2 separate regions of the Homo sapiens genome follow, and region 2 is linked to region 1. The links are contacts of gene promoters, found by promoter capture Hi-C in blood cells and fetal thymus (Javierre and others, 2016). All regions are on one chromosome and are shown on one strand. The core of a region is centred on a gene start or on the middle of the fragment in contact, and the rest is flanking DNA. Distances in the headings are between cores, read along the strand shown.

What was found. Contacts are between HindIII fragments. The CHiCAGO score rates a contact against its expected background, and 5 or more counts as called.
Region 2: a fragment that was not itself captured here is called in contact with the fragment with the promoter of TXNL4B in region 1 in 2 of 17 cell types (total CD8 T cells and naive CD8 T cells); the score reaches 5.5 in total CD8 T cells.

Annotation. Positions count from the first base shown.
Region 1 is chr16:72,092,205-72,098,449 of GRCh38, reverse strand. It overlaps TXNL4B (thioredoxin like 4B), which reads left to right and starts at 4,830. Exons shown (of 4, transcript NM_017853.3): 1 at 4,830-5,083. DHX38 (DEAH-box helicase 38) reads right to left here and starts at 4,603. Exons shown (of 27, transcript NM_014003.4): 1 at 4,399-4,603; 2 at 1,970-2,311; 3 at 1,441-1,628; 4 at 669-773. The coding sequence starts at 2,292. RefSeq lists enhancers at 4,308-4,607, 4,668-4,717, 4,728-5,057. The HindIII fragment of the contact is 4,501 bases long and covers 796-5,296 here.
Region 2 is chr16:77,212,989-77,219,445 of GRCh38, reverse strand. SYCE1L (synaptonemal complex central element protein 1 like) reads right to left here. Exons shown (of 11, transcript NM_001129979.3): 11 at 6,231-6,457. Among named protein-coding and RNA genes, the nearest start is that of SYCE1L, 17 kb to the right of the region's middle. RefSeq lists silencers at 6,286-6,335, 6,366-6,455 and an enhancer at 6,235-6,457. The HindIII fragment of the contact is 2,250 bases long and covers 2,164-4,413 here.

The sequences.
Region 1 (6,245 bases), core at 3,581-6,080:
CCTTTTTTTCTTTTTTTGAGACAAAGTCTTGCTCTGTCGCCCAGGCTGGAGTACAGTGGTGTGATCTTGGCTCACTGCAACCTCTGCCTCCCGGGTACAAGTGATTCTCCTGCCTCAGCCTACCGAATAGCTGGGATTATAGGTACCCACCACCACCCCAGGCTAATTTTTGTATTTTTAGTAGGGATGGGGTTTCACCATGTTGGCCAGGCTGGTCTCGAACTCCTGACCTCAAGTAATCTGCCTGCCTCAGCCTCCCAAAGTACTGGGATTACAGGTATGAGCCACTGCACCTAGCCAATGGTCCAGTTTGCATTCTGTGTTTATGACAACATTTTAAGGGATATTTACTTTATCTCTACAAACACACCCTTCTTGGATATAAGTAGTTCTTTTTAATAAACACTTCTTCTACCTCCAGCTCCCTATTCTTTCCTACCATTTGGAAAACTGGCCATTCAGCAAACCAGCCTCTCACCTTACAGGAACCATATCCACCCCAAGTGCAGAGCTGTGCCCACCTGACTCAGAACCAACTATCCCAAGATGTTCATGGTAGAATCGGGAATTCTGACTCAATGCCTCAGCAATCTCACTGAAGACGAGAGTCACTCACTCTGCCTTTTATACACTTGAATCCTCACAAGCCACCAAAACAGTGAGTCTACCTTTAGGTCGATGTCGTGGGCTCTCGGGTTCATTTCTTCTGCTGCTACGCTCTGACCCTCCATCTCGCTCTGATCTGCTGCTGTGCCTACTTCTATCCCGCTCATCTATGAAGAGTCACACGAAGCTTAAAAACATGCATCCCATCCTAAGGTATACACATCTTCACCCTAGAGAAAGGACAGGCTGCCCACTCACTCACAGGTGCAACCTGCACTGCTCGAATGTGATCCGTGGACTCCTGAAACTCACCTATCCCCATTCTCCCAAGGGGGAAAAATAGTTACTGCCTAGAAAATTTCAAACCCACAGTAACAGTTATTTTCCAGCAAGAATTCAAAAAATACTAGTGCGAGTTTACAGTGAATCATTTTTTTTAATAGTTACAATTCTATCAGCTATAAAACTTAATACTGAGCAAGGACAGCATTGGATTTTTTTGTCTAGCTTTGTTCCATAGCACTGTCCTTTCTCTATCACCAATACTATTAGAAATGCTGGTCTCTTATACATATTTACCCATTATCTCCTTTATCATCAATTTTCATAATAAAACGAAGACCACACACTCAAGGAGAGCAGCTATGTTACAGGCAACAGCTCTTTTCTTAAACTAGTATTCCCAATCCCAGCAGGGTCAAAACCACTCAGGCGGACATCATGCAAATAGGACTCCCTAACAAATGGGTGTTGCAAAAACTCCTGCAACAAGAAAAAGGCTGACACATTTATTCGAATGCTAATGGACAATAGGAACTGTGCTGGACAGTTTACCTCTGTCCCTCTTGCGGTCATAGTCTCGATCCCGCGATTTCTCCTTCTTCCAATCCTTTTCTTCTTTGGACGAGGCATAGACACCATGTTCCCGCCGCTCCCGCTCTCTCTGCCGACTGCGTTCCCAAAACTCTTCGCTCACACCACCCGGATGGGATGGAGTCTCTACCCGAGCAGACCGATAATGTCTGAAACAGGGAGAGCAACTGGTAAAGGCCCCTCCATAGGAGAAAAACTCTGCCCTAAAACCTTTGGCTGTCCAAACAAGTGATCTGTCCTTTTCCACTTTCTCTCCCTGGGACGCAGGCTCACATATGGCAACAACCCAAGGCATTTCTAACCTCTACCATCTCGTCTTTATTCACCTTTGTTTTTCCCCACAAATTCCTACCTACCTTCAGTATTACAGAATCATAATAAAATCATAAAGCTCTAAATCTCCAACAGGAAAACTGAGAGATAAACATGAGCTGTTATTTTCCAGCCTCCGTTCGCTTCCCTCTGGGCTAACCCATACTAAGGCCTTTACCTGTCTTTCCGGATATTTTGGCCAGCCTGGTCACCGCCCTCTTCCTCAGCATCCTTCTGGTCATCCTTGCTCTCTTCCCAGTCCTTGTAGGAGGAGACTTTGGACTTCTTCTTGTCCTCCCCATCGTCCTTCTCCTCTCGCTCTCTCCGTTTCAGGGAAGCCAGCAAGTCCAGTCCGAGTAATGAAGGGCGGGGAGCAGGAGCCTTGAAGACATGCTGCTCGCTGGCCGCACTTTTGGACTTGCAAATAAGACCACCAACCTGACAGTCCAGATCAGTGCCTTCCAATCGATGGATCGAGGCATCCTCACTGGTGTCCCCCATCACAGGATCTGGGATTTCTCTGGAAGGAAGGCAAACCATTTGGTACTAGAGAAGGCTCAGCTCTACTATATCCCACAATAAATGCAGTTATGGTTATATGTAGGTGATTAACCTTCCCCATCTCCCCTTAAGACCAGGACTACTTTTGCTCCCTCTCTCCAAGACCTTTCCATCAAGTCACTGCCTATCTCCAAAGATTCTCCTATTCCAACCCCCAATAAACACCAAAATAGATACACACACACACACACACACACACACACCCCATACATTCCTCCCCAGCCCCCACAAAGATCCAAGAGGCAATAAAAAGTCTCACTAAGGGACACTTTCTAGAGCCTGATGTCAGCAGCTGTAACAGGGATGTAGGGAAAACACCACTAAATTTGAATCAGAAACCTCAATTAGAAACCAGGCTCTTGACACTTTCTACCTGTATGATGGTAAGCAAATAACTTAATCTTTGTTTAGCCATAATTTCATATCTATTAAATGGAAAAAATTTTTACCTTATCTAATCCATGAAGCTATTGTGAGAATCAAACAAAAAGTGTATGTGAAACCATAAAGAGTAGCTCTTTATGTAACCATAACAGTTAACATAAATGTAACTGCTACATTGTATTATTTGCTATCCTCCTATATACTGTTGGTCCCTCACCCATTTTTTTACATGAGTTCTACCTCTTCCTCTCTTTAAACAACAGGTACAGCAGCACAGAGATGGGGCAGAAGGCTACCGTCCATGTTCTCCATACTTTAGTGGCTTTTCTTGGCCTAGCTGCGTTTTACAGAAAACAATTTACTCACAGCAGCCAAAATCAGTTTAATAACAATCCATGTTCACCAAAAATATTTATGAGAAACACCAGGTTAGGAAAAGGTGTTACTGAGAAGTATTTAAGTGGCTACAAGACTTCTGGCACTCAAGTTGGAACAAGCTCCTCTTTACCTCTCACTACACATCTGCCACTCATCAACATATATCAGTTCTGGATGCTTGGATAATTCCTCTCATTCCAACAAGTTAGCAAAGCAAAGGAGATGCCACCAGAATCCAGAATTGTTTACCAAACTCTAATTAAATGCACAGCTCTACAGAGTATTGCCAAACAGACTGGACACATAATATTAATGCAGAAACAAGAGTTACATTTTGAAAATGCCATCAGGCAGAACAGAAAAAAAGAAAGCTGCATATTGGTGACATCTGTGCGCATGTGAGGAAATCCACACAAGAAGGTAAAGATATACAGGCTCTACTCAATAGTTGTCTAAACTAGGAAAGGTACCCTGGACTGCCATTCTACGCAGTTGAGAGAACACTGGATGTGTTGTTGACTGCTGTAGCTCAATGTCTAGCAAAATAAGCGTTTGATAAATTAAAAAATGAATTAATTTAAACTTATTAAAGGAGGACAGGAACCCAAACATTTCTGGAGACAGCAAGGGAAGATTCCAGCAACACAGGACAAGGAGACAGCCAGAGAGAACTTCATTAGCTGCTGAGACGAACAAATAAGGAGCTAAAGAGCAAGATTCTTGAGAAGGATTAATGGCAAAGAAACTACAAGGCGTACGAGAAAGCCAGGGAAGAAAGAACCTGGATTCATTCATTCAACAATTATTCACTGAGGGTGTCCCTGAGCCAATTGCTGTTCTCGGCGATAGCAACAGAGAACAAGACAAAAATCCCCGCCCACCTGGAGCTGACATTCTAGTAGAAGAGATCGCCCACCAGATTGCCTGGTATAAATGACACTGTGAGAGAGCAGAGGAAGACACAAGGAGTCCTACTCGGGCTCGGTGACAGTCTGGGGTGGGTTAAAGCGGAGGCCTGGGAGAGGGACCAAGGCCACTCCAGGCAGCATCCCTGGATCTCAGCGAGGCCGCTCCAGGCAGCAGGATTTGACCAGAGCAAGGAGGAAGGCCAAGGCGGCCAGGACGGATGCAGCATCCCTGAGGTGAGTAAGGCAAGGTGGGTGACAGGGACGACAGAGGAACTCCCCAAACTGGGGCCCGGACCTGAGCAGGGGACCAATATCCGCCGCCTAGAGCCGCCATGATTACAGAAGGGCAGGCCAGGAAGGAAGAAGGGACTCTCACCTCACCAAGCGCGACTCTTGGGACCCTTCTGTCCCGGATTCTGGGGCGCCGGCGCTGCCACCCCTCGCTCAGACAGGCTCAAGGAGCCAAAATCCACACCTTGAAAGCGGCCATTATTGTCCCTTAATACTTTGCGCGCCCCCTCTATCCGCCCAAAGCTACCATAGAGAGCAGCCTGGAACACGCCCGATTCCTGGATCCAAGTGTGGAACGGTACGCCAACAGGCTCTCAAGGCCTCCTCTGGGGCTCTGATCAGACACTTCCGAGTCTCCTTGTGACCAATCACTCTTAGCCTAAGAGACTACATCCCGCCTCTAGTCTGGGGGCAGGAAAAGGAGGGGAAAAAGGTCGACCATCTTTAATACGGGCGGAGGTGACGCCTAGCTTCCGGTCAGAGCCGAGCAAGGTGGGCGGTGACTAGAAGCTCTTCCGTTTATTGGGCTGTTGAGCGGGGGCCGACCGACGGCCAGGAGTTTCTTTTCTGCGCTTGTGCGTTTTCTGTTCGGTTTCCTTCCCGCTAGCGGGGCCACGAGGGTTGCTAGGCAACAGCCCCTGGGTGACTTGGTCTTAGGGTCCTGTCCGGCTTGGGGCTGATGAAAGGAGCTGTCCGCGCCCGGGCTCTTCCGAGAAGTGGTTGCTGACAGCCACAAAGTGAAAGGGAGTGAGGCGGCGTGGACGAGTAAGGTAAGTGCTGGGGTCCCTTAGCGCTTGTGGGCCAGGAGCAGCGCAACACAGGTGACTTTAAATATGTATATCGGATATTTTGGAAAATGGAGATGCGCGCCCGGCTGTAAATAAAAATCACCCATGCGTTCACACGCAGAGATGACCACTGATTTCCAGTTGTTTTTCTGGAATACATTGTAGTAAGATTCTGTACAAAAGTGAGTTCAAGCTTTTTTTCTTTTTTTGGTGTTTCTGCAGTTGTGGCGCGCGCCTGAGGTTCCAGCTACTCGGGAGGCTGAGGCGGGAGGATTGCTTGAGCCTGGGGAGTTGAGACCAGCCTGGGCAACATAGCGAAACCCCGCCTCAGAAAAAGAGAGGGAGAGAGGAAAGCAGTGGAGTTATTGGTCAAAGAGTATGTCAGTTTTCTTTCCAGAAAGGTTTTGTGTCTGCATTCCAGCAGGAACTCCCTGTGCCTGCCCCTACCACTATCTTGTTTAATTTTTGCCAATTCAGTGACTTTGTAAACATATGTTTTAATTTGCTTTTCTTTGCTTACTGGTAAAGCTTAACTTTTTAGTTTATTTACTGTCCATTTGTACGTCTTCTTTTGGGAATTCTCTGTGGGTATCATTTACTATGGACATTTTCTTAGATGTGGTCTCAGTTTTCCTCTCCTGCTTCCAACGTTTGTCCAGTTGCACCCCTAGCCTCACCACTAACAACTTTGTTCTCCCCTTACTTTCTCCTTTCGATCAGTAACACGGAGGAACTGCTGTTTGTTTGAATTCTAGTGGGACAGATCCGTCTTCTCTTTGACCTTCCCTTTCATTGGTAATTTGTTCTGCTGCTCACATCTGATGACGTCCCTTTGGGCCATCAATGTCCCTGTTTAAAGTATGACCTATAGCTGGAACAATCTTATTTCCTATGTGAATTTTAGTTAAATAATTCCTTTTTTTTTTTTTGGAGACGGAGCTTCGCTCTTGTTGCCTTGCCCAGGCTGGAGTGCAGTGGAGCGATCCTAGCTCACTGCAACCTCCGCCTCCAGGGTTCAAGCAATTCTCCTGCCTCAGCCTCCTGAGTAGCTTGGATTACAGGTGGCATCTGCCACCACGCCCGGCTAATTTTTTGTATTTTTAGTAGAGACGGGGTTTCACCATGTTGGCCAGGCTGGTCTCGA
Region 2 (6,457 bases), core at 2,039-4,538, 5.1 Mb before region 1:
GCATGCCTCCCCACACTCTAGTATGTACCTGTGTCTTTGAACCCTTTGTCCTGGGTTGCCTTCCTCATTAGGCTATGAATTATCAATGACAGTATAGTTTTATTAAACAAACCCTGAAAAATTAGATACCTAAATAGACAGTCAAGTAAAGAAACATACGAAGAAAAATATTCCTAAAAATACATTTATTGTCCGGGCGTGGTGGCTCACGCCTGTAATTCCAGCACTTTGGGAGGCTGAGGTGGGTGGATCACCTGAGGTCAGGAGTTCAAGACCAGCCTGGCCAACATGGTGAAACCCCATCTCTACTAAAAATACAAAAAATTAGCTGGGCATGGTGGCAGGTGCCTGTAATCCCAGCAATTCGGGAGGCTGAGGCAGGAGAATTGCTTGAACCCAGGAGGCAGAGGTTGCAGTGAGCCGAGATAGTGCCACTGCACTCCAACCTGGGCAACAGAGTGAGACTCAGTCTCAAAAAAAAAAAATTACTGTAGCAACATTATTATCAGGTAAAATAGAATTCAAAGAGATATACAGAGGAGAAGAACACATAAAATAAAAATTAGGCCAGGTGCGGTGACTAACGCCTGTAATCCCCGCACTTTGGGAGGCCAAGGCAGGCGGATCACCTGAGGTCGGGAGTTGGAGAACAGCCCGACTAACATGGAGAAACCCTATCTCTTCTAAAAATACAAAATTAGCTGGGCATGGTGATGCATGCCTGTAATCCCAGCTACCCAGGAGGCTGAGGCAGGAGAATTGCTTGAACCCGGGAGGCGGAGGTTGTGGTCAACTGAGATCACACCATTGCGCTCCAGCCTAGGCAACAAGAGTGAAACGCTATCTCAAAAAAAAAAAAAAAAAAAACTAAACAGATAAAACAGACTCTTTTCTCCTTTAGAAGGCTCAATATAATGATACTAATTTCCTGCATGTTAATGTATATATTTCATTCAATACAAATATCAAATAATAATAGGGGTTTTTTGTTGTTGTTGCTGCTGTTTAATTTTTTTTGAAACAGAGTCTCACACTGCCACAAGGCTAGAGTGCAGTGGCGTGATCTCTGCTCACTGCAACCTCCGCCTCCTGGGTTCAAGTGATTCTCCTGCCTCAGCCTCCCTAGTAGCTGGGACTACAGGCTTGTGCCACCACATCCAGCTAATTTTTTGTATTTTTAGTAGAGACAGGGTTTCACCATGTTAGTCAGGATGGTCTTGATTTCCTGACCTCATAGTCTGCCTGCCTCTGCCCACCAAAGTGCTGGGATTACAGCTGTGAGCCACTGCGCCCAGTCAGGTTTTTTGTTTTTTTGTTTTTTTTTTTTTTTTGGAAATAGACAATATGATTCTAGAGTATGCATAGGAAAGAAACTACCCTTGAAAAATTCTGAAACAGTAGGAAAATATAGAGGAGGTCTCACCAAGTGAGTTTCATAATATTATTTAAGGGTATAATAATAAAAAGTTTGGTATTTGTGTATAAATAGGTAACTAGATAAAGGAATAGAATAAACAGTTCAGAAATTGACCAAAATAGACATGATTATTTGGTATATGGCGAGGATGGCATTGCAGTTGGGGGGATACATGTGCTATTCAGTAAATTCTCTCCAGATTATGTACAGACACAAAATAAATTCCAAATAGTTCAAATATAAACTAAATTATAAAAGCATTAGGGCCCGGGAGCAGTGGCTCACACCTATAATCCCAGCACTTTTGGAGGCTGAGGTGGGTGGATCACCTGAGGTCAGGAGTTTGAGACCAGCCTGGCCAACATGGTGAAACCCCGTCTCTATTAAAAATACAAAAATTAGCTGGATGGGATGGTGGGTGCCTGTAATCCCAGCTCCTCGGGACGCTGCTACAGAATTGCTTGAACCCAGGAGGCAGGGCTTGCGGTGCGCCGAGACTGCACCACTGTACTCCAGCCTAGGCAACAGAGCGAGACTCCATCTTACTAAATAAATAAATAAATAAATAAATGTATTAGAAACGGTGACTTAACATATGGTGGGCAGGAGGGTGGGCAAGTGGTCTCTTCAGGGCAGGGTCCTCGCTAGTGCTGTGGGCACCAGAAGGGGAAGAACAGCCATGTGCTCTCCTCTGGGTAGTAGGATACTGAAATTGGGATATTTTGGGGTGTATGTTTTTTGAAGCTTTGACTGTGATTTTTAAACAATAAAATGTTCTAAAAATATAAAGGTAACCACTGAGAAAGATATTTAATCTCAGAGTGGAAGAGAAATTTATAGGTAATGGGCATTTTAGATAATGTAGGTTTAATAAGACTTTAGAAATAAGAAGACACACGGAAAGTAAAACAGGCTTTCCAAAAATGAGGCACAAAATATAAAGACAATGACTCCAGAAAAGAAGGTCATTAAATGCCTACTGGCTTTCATAAGATACAATTGGAAGGAATCTTTATAACTCTTAAATAGGTCTGATCACAGAAGTAAAACATGACTGCACACACTTGGAAGAAATCAATTAATTTTAGCAGGGCATGGTGACTCACGCCTATAATCCCAGCACTTTGGGAGGCCAAGGTGGGTGGATCATTTGAAGTCAGGAGTTTGAGACCAGCCTGGCCAATATGGTGAAACCCTGTGTCTACTAAAACTACAAAAATTAGCCGGGCGTGTTGGTGGGCACCTGTAGTCCCAGCTACTTGGGTGGCTGAGACAGGAGAATCGCTTGAACCCGGGAGGTGGAGGTTGCAGGGAGCCGAGATTGTGCCACTGCACTCTAGCCTGGGCGACAGAGTGAGAGTCCATCTCAAAAAATAAATAAATAAAAATAAAAAAAGAGATAAATTAATTTCAGAGTTAACACCAAGGAAGGACTACAAGACAAAAAACAGGCACCTAGGCTATTCAAATCATCTCCATCTAATAATGACTTGATAATGAAAGGAAGAAGAATGGAACTAATGTAATCTTTGGGTAAATGTTACTCAAGATTCCAATGAGAAAGATGCTGGGTAGGATTACGGTGAGTAATAGGTCACAAAAACAGAGTTTGAGTTTTGTAGGAAAATGGAAAATGAAGTCTAGGTACTTGTGAATTTTGTAGGTATGGCAAATATGTTAATTCTGCCACTGACCAGTCCCTTAAAACAGCTGGTAGATCAGCAAATAGAATATGCACGGACCTCTCACTGTTCTACTCACTGGTTAGCATCACTGCTTAACAAGATCCTAGAATGGAGAAAAGTAAGAGCTCAATATCCAGGTTCCCAGGAAAAGGTGGCCTGGGATTGTATTCACCTGTACTTGATGTTTTGATTGCTGTCTGAAATCTAAATGAACACAAAATTGAGAGATCAAAAAAGAAATGGTGGATGCCTTTGATTCTCTGAAACGTAACATGCTACATGTCCTCAAAACTTTATGAACGGCCAGTCAGGGTGGCTCACGCCTGTAATCCCAGCACTTTGGGAGGCCAAGGCGGGTGGATCACTTGAGGTCAGGAGTTTGAGACCAGCCTGGCCAACATGGTGAAACCCCGTCACTACTAAAAATACGAAAATTAGCTGGGTGTGGAGGTGGGCGCCTGTAATCCCAGTGACTCGGGAGGGTGAGGCAGGAGAATCCCTTGAACTCAGGAGGTGGAGGTTGCAGTGAGCCGTGATCTCGCCATTGCACTCCAGCCTAGGCAACAAGAATGAAACTCCATCTCAAAAAAAAAAAAAAAAAGGGAATTTAAGTAACCTAACTGTGTAACCTGAAGTTACACAGCTAGTATGCAGCAGAGCTGGGATTCTAACAAACACAGTCTGGCCCTGGGTTCTGTTCTGCTAACTAGTGTGCTCTATTAGGTAGTAATATTATTATCCTCCGGGAGATTCTACTGCAGTCACTTTGGCCACTCTCTCTTCCATGCCTTGTCTAGCTTGCTACTCAGGATGTGCTATGTTTGCATCTCTTCGGGCCCCTCCTCTGACTCCTCTGTTTTTCAGTGGGTTTCTTTCTGGCTTACTTTTTTCAAGAATGTCCTGGCCGGGTGCGGTTGCTCACGCCTGTAATCCCAGCATTCTGGGAGGCCGAGGCGGGCGGATCACGAGGGCAGGAGATCGAGACCATCCTGGATAACACGGTAAAACCCCGTCTCTACTAAAAATACAGAAAAACATTAGCCGGGTGTGGTAGCGGGCACCTGTAGTCCCAGCTACTCTGGAGGCTGAGGCAGGACAATGGCGTGAACCTGGGAGCCGGAGCTTGCAGTGAGCCGAGATGGCGCCACTGCACTCCAGCCTGGGCGACAGAGCGAGACTCCGTCTCAAAAATAAATAAATAAATAAATAAAAATAATAATAATAATAAAAAGAATGTCCTTCCGCCTTTTGGCAACACTGAGCTCCCCCAGGCTCATTCACATTTGAACCTGAACTACAAGCCAAGAAGCTTGAGAATTATGGTAATTGAATGCAAGCCCTGAGAAAAGCTGTTACAGGAAGTGAGTGAAGACTTCCCAGGCAGCTGTCAATTATTTCAATGAAAGGAGAAGTAGCCCTGCCAGGAAGGTCAGTTGAGTCAGGAGAACACAGGGCAAATCAAAAGCCAAAGTCTCGCTCTGTCGCCCAGGCTGGAGTGTAGTGGCGCCATCTTGGCTCACTGCAACCTCCGCCTTCCGGGTTCAAGCAATTCTCTGCCACAGCCTCCTGAGTAGCTAGGATTCCAGACACCTGCCACCACCAAACCAAGGGGTGTCACCATCTTGGCAAGGCTGGTCTTGAACTCCTGACCTCGTGATCCACCCGCCTCAGCCTCCCAGAGTGCTGGGATTACAGGCGTGAGCCACAGCACCCAGCTGGTCACTGCGTTTTAGAGACATTAAGCAATTTGCCTGAGGTCATCCAGCTGGTGAACAGGGAAACCAGGACTCGAATCCTAGGTGCCCAGTGGTAAATCGGCAGAATATCCAGGCTGACCCCATTTGTGTGACACAGAGAGGATGACAAAGAGGATACTGAAGTTCCTTAGAGATTCCTGGAGACTGGCCTTAGCAAGTAGGTGGTGTCAGTGGGGCAGGGGACCACAGCCTGGGCCTGGAGTCAGCTCTGCCCGGATGCGAGTGGTGACTCGGGGACTAAAGCTCCCTGGGCCTCATCTGTGGACTTGGGATAATAATGGCAACAAACGTGAGACCCAACGTTTATTGAGGGCTTACTGTACAGATTCACTATCTCAATTTTCCTCATCGCTAAATTGGGAATAACAGCAAGAATAGCAGTGAGAATAATAAATGATAGATACCATTTATTGAGCATTTATGTTATAAAAATCTCTGTTCTGAGAGATATACACACCTTAGTGTTCCTCATCTGTAGCCTGGGAATAATAATAATAAATCATATGAACCACTTACTGATCACTTAATGGACAGAAGCCTCTGATCTAAGTGAGTCACACATCTCAGTTCCCATTCTCTAGGGACTGGGAATAGTGAATCATCCCAACAATATGTGAGAGCTGGCATTCACTGAATACTGACTGTGTGCCAGGTCCTCTTCTACACACATTAGATAGTGTCCAACTTGACTGGTCCTTGGCAACTCTCCAGTGTCGTCTCCCATCCCACTCTACCTCATTCCACTCTACCACGCCGGCCTTCTCCAGACGTCTCCTCAAACACAGCGAAGTGCAGCCTCACCTCCCGCCTTGGCATGAGGCATGTCTTCTGCCAGGCCCACCTTTCCCCAGACACCCACAGGGCTCACCCCCTCGCTTCTCTACCTCGCTTCTCCGCTCAGATACCACTTCCTAGGTGAGGCCGTCGCTGACCGCGCTGTTTAAAATCCAGTGCTTAGAACAGTGCCTGGTACCCAGCAGGCAATCGGCAAATGCCTGCTTAGTCAGTACATGCTCAGTCAATGGCCGCAGCCTGCTGCTGGGTGCCTTTGGATTTGGGTCCCAAATGCCGGCCTCCAGAGTGGCGGACACATTTAACAGATCTGAGGTTGCCTGGGGGATGTGACCCCAGAGAAGGACCAGTAGGGCGAAGGCCCCGAGGGGACACGTGTTTTGGAATGTTTGAGACGGGTGGAGAGGCAGCCTTGGCTAGAACCCAATTTGTGAGGGGAGCTCAGATGGGCGGGCATGTCCCAGAGCCAGCGCGAGTCTGCGGGTCTTGCAGAGACTCTGGGTTTCCTGAGACCACCGGAGACGCACAGGCCCCGAGGACCGGAATGGGTTAACACCTGCCCTCCGGCCCCTGTTGACAACATAGATGGTTTGGGAACTCGAGATGAGGCCGTGGGGCGGGGGATACTGACACCCACTTACTCTCTCTGAGTTCAGGAGCATTTACCCAGCCTCTGTACGGCGCCCGGGGCTCGACTGGTGGGAGGGGTCCGGCAGAGGCCCCGCCTCGAGATCCCAGCACGCCCCGCCCCGCTCCACGGTGTAGCACAGACTCCGCGGAGAACGCGAGCATGGTCGGAAATCATC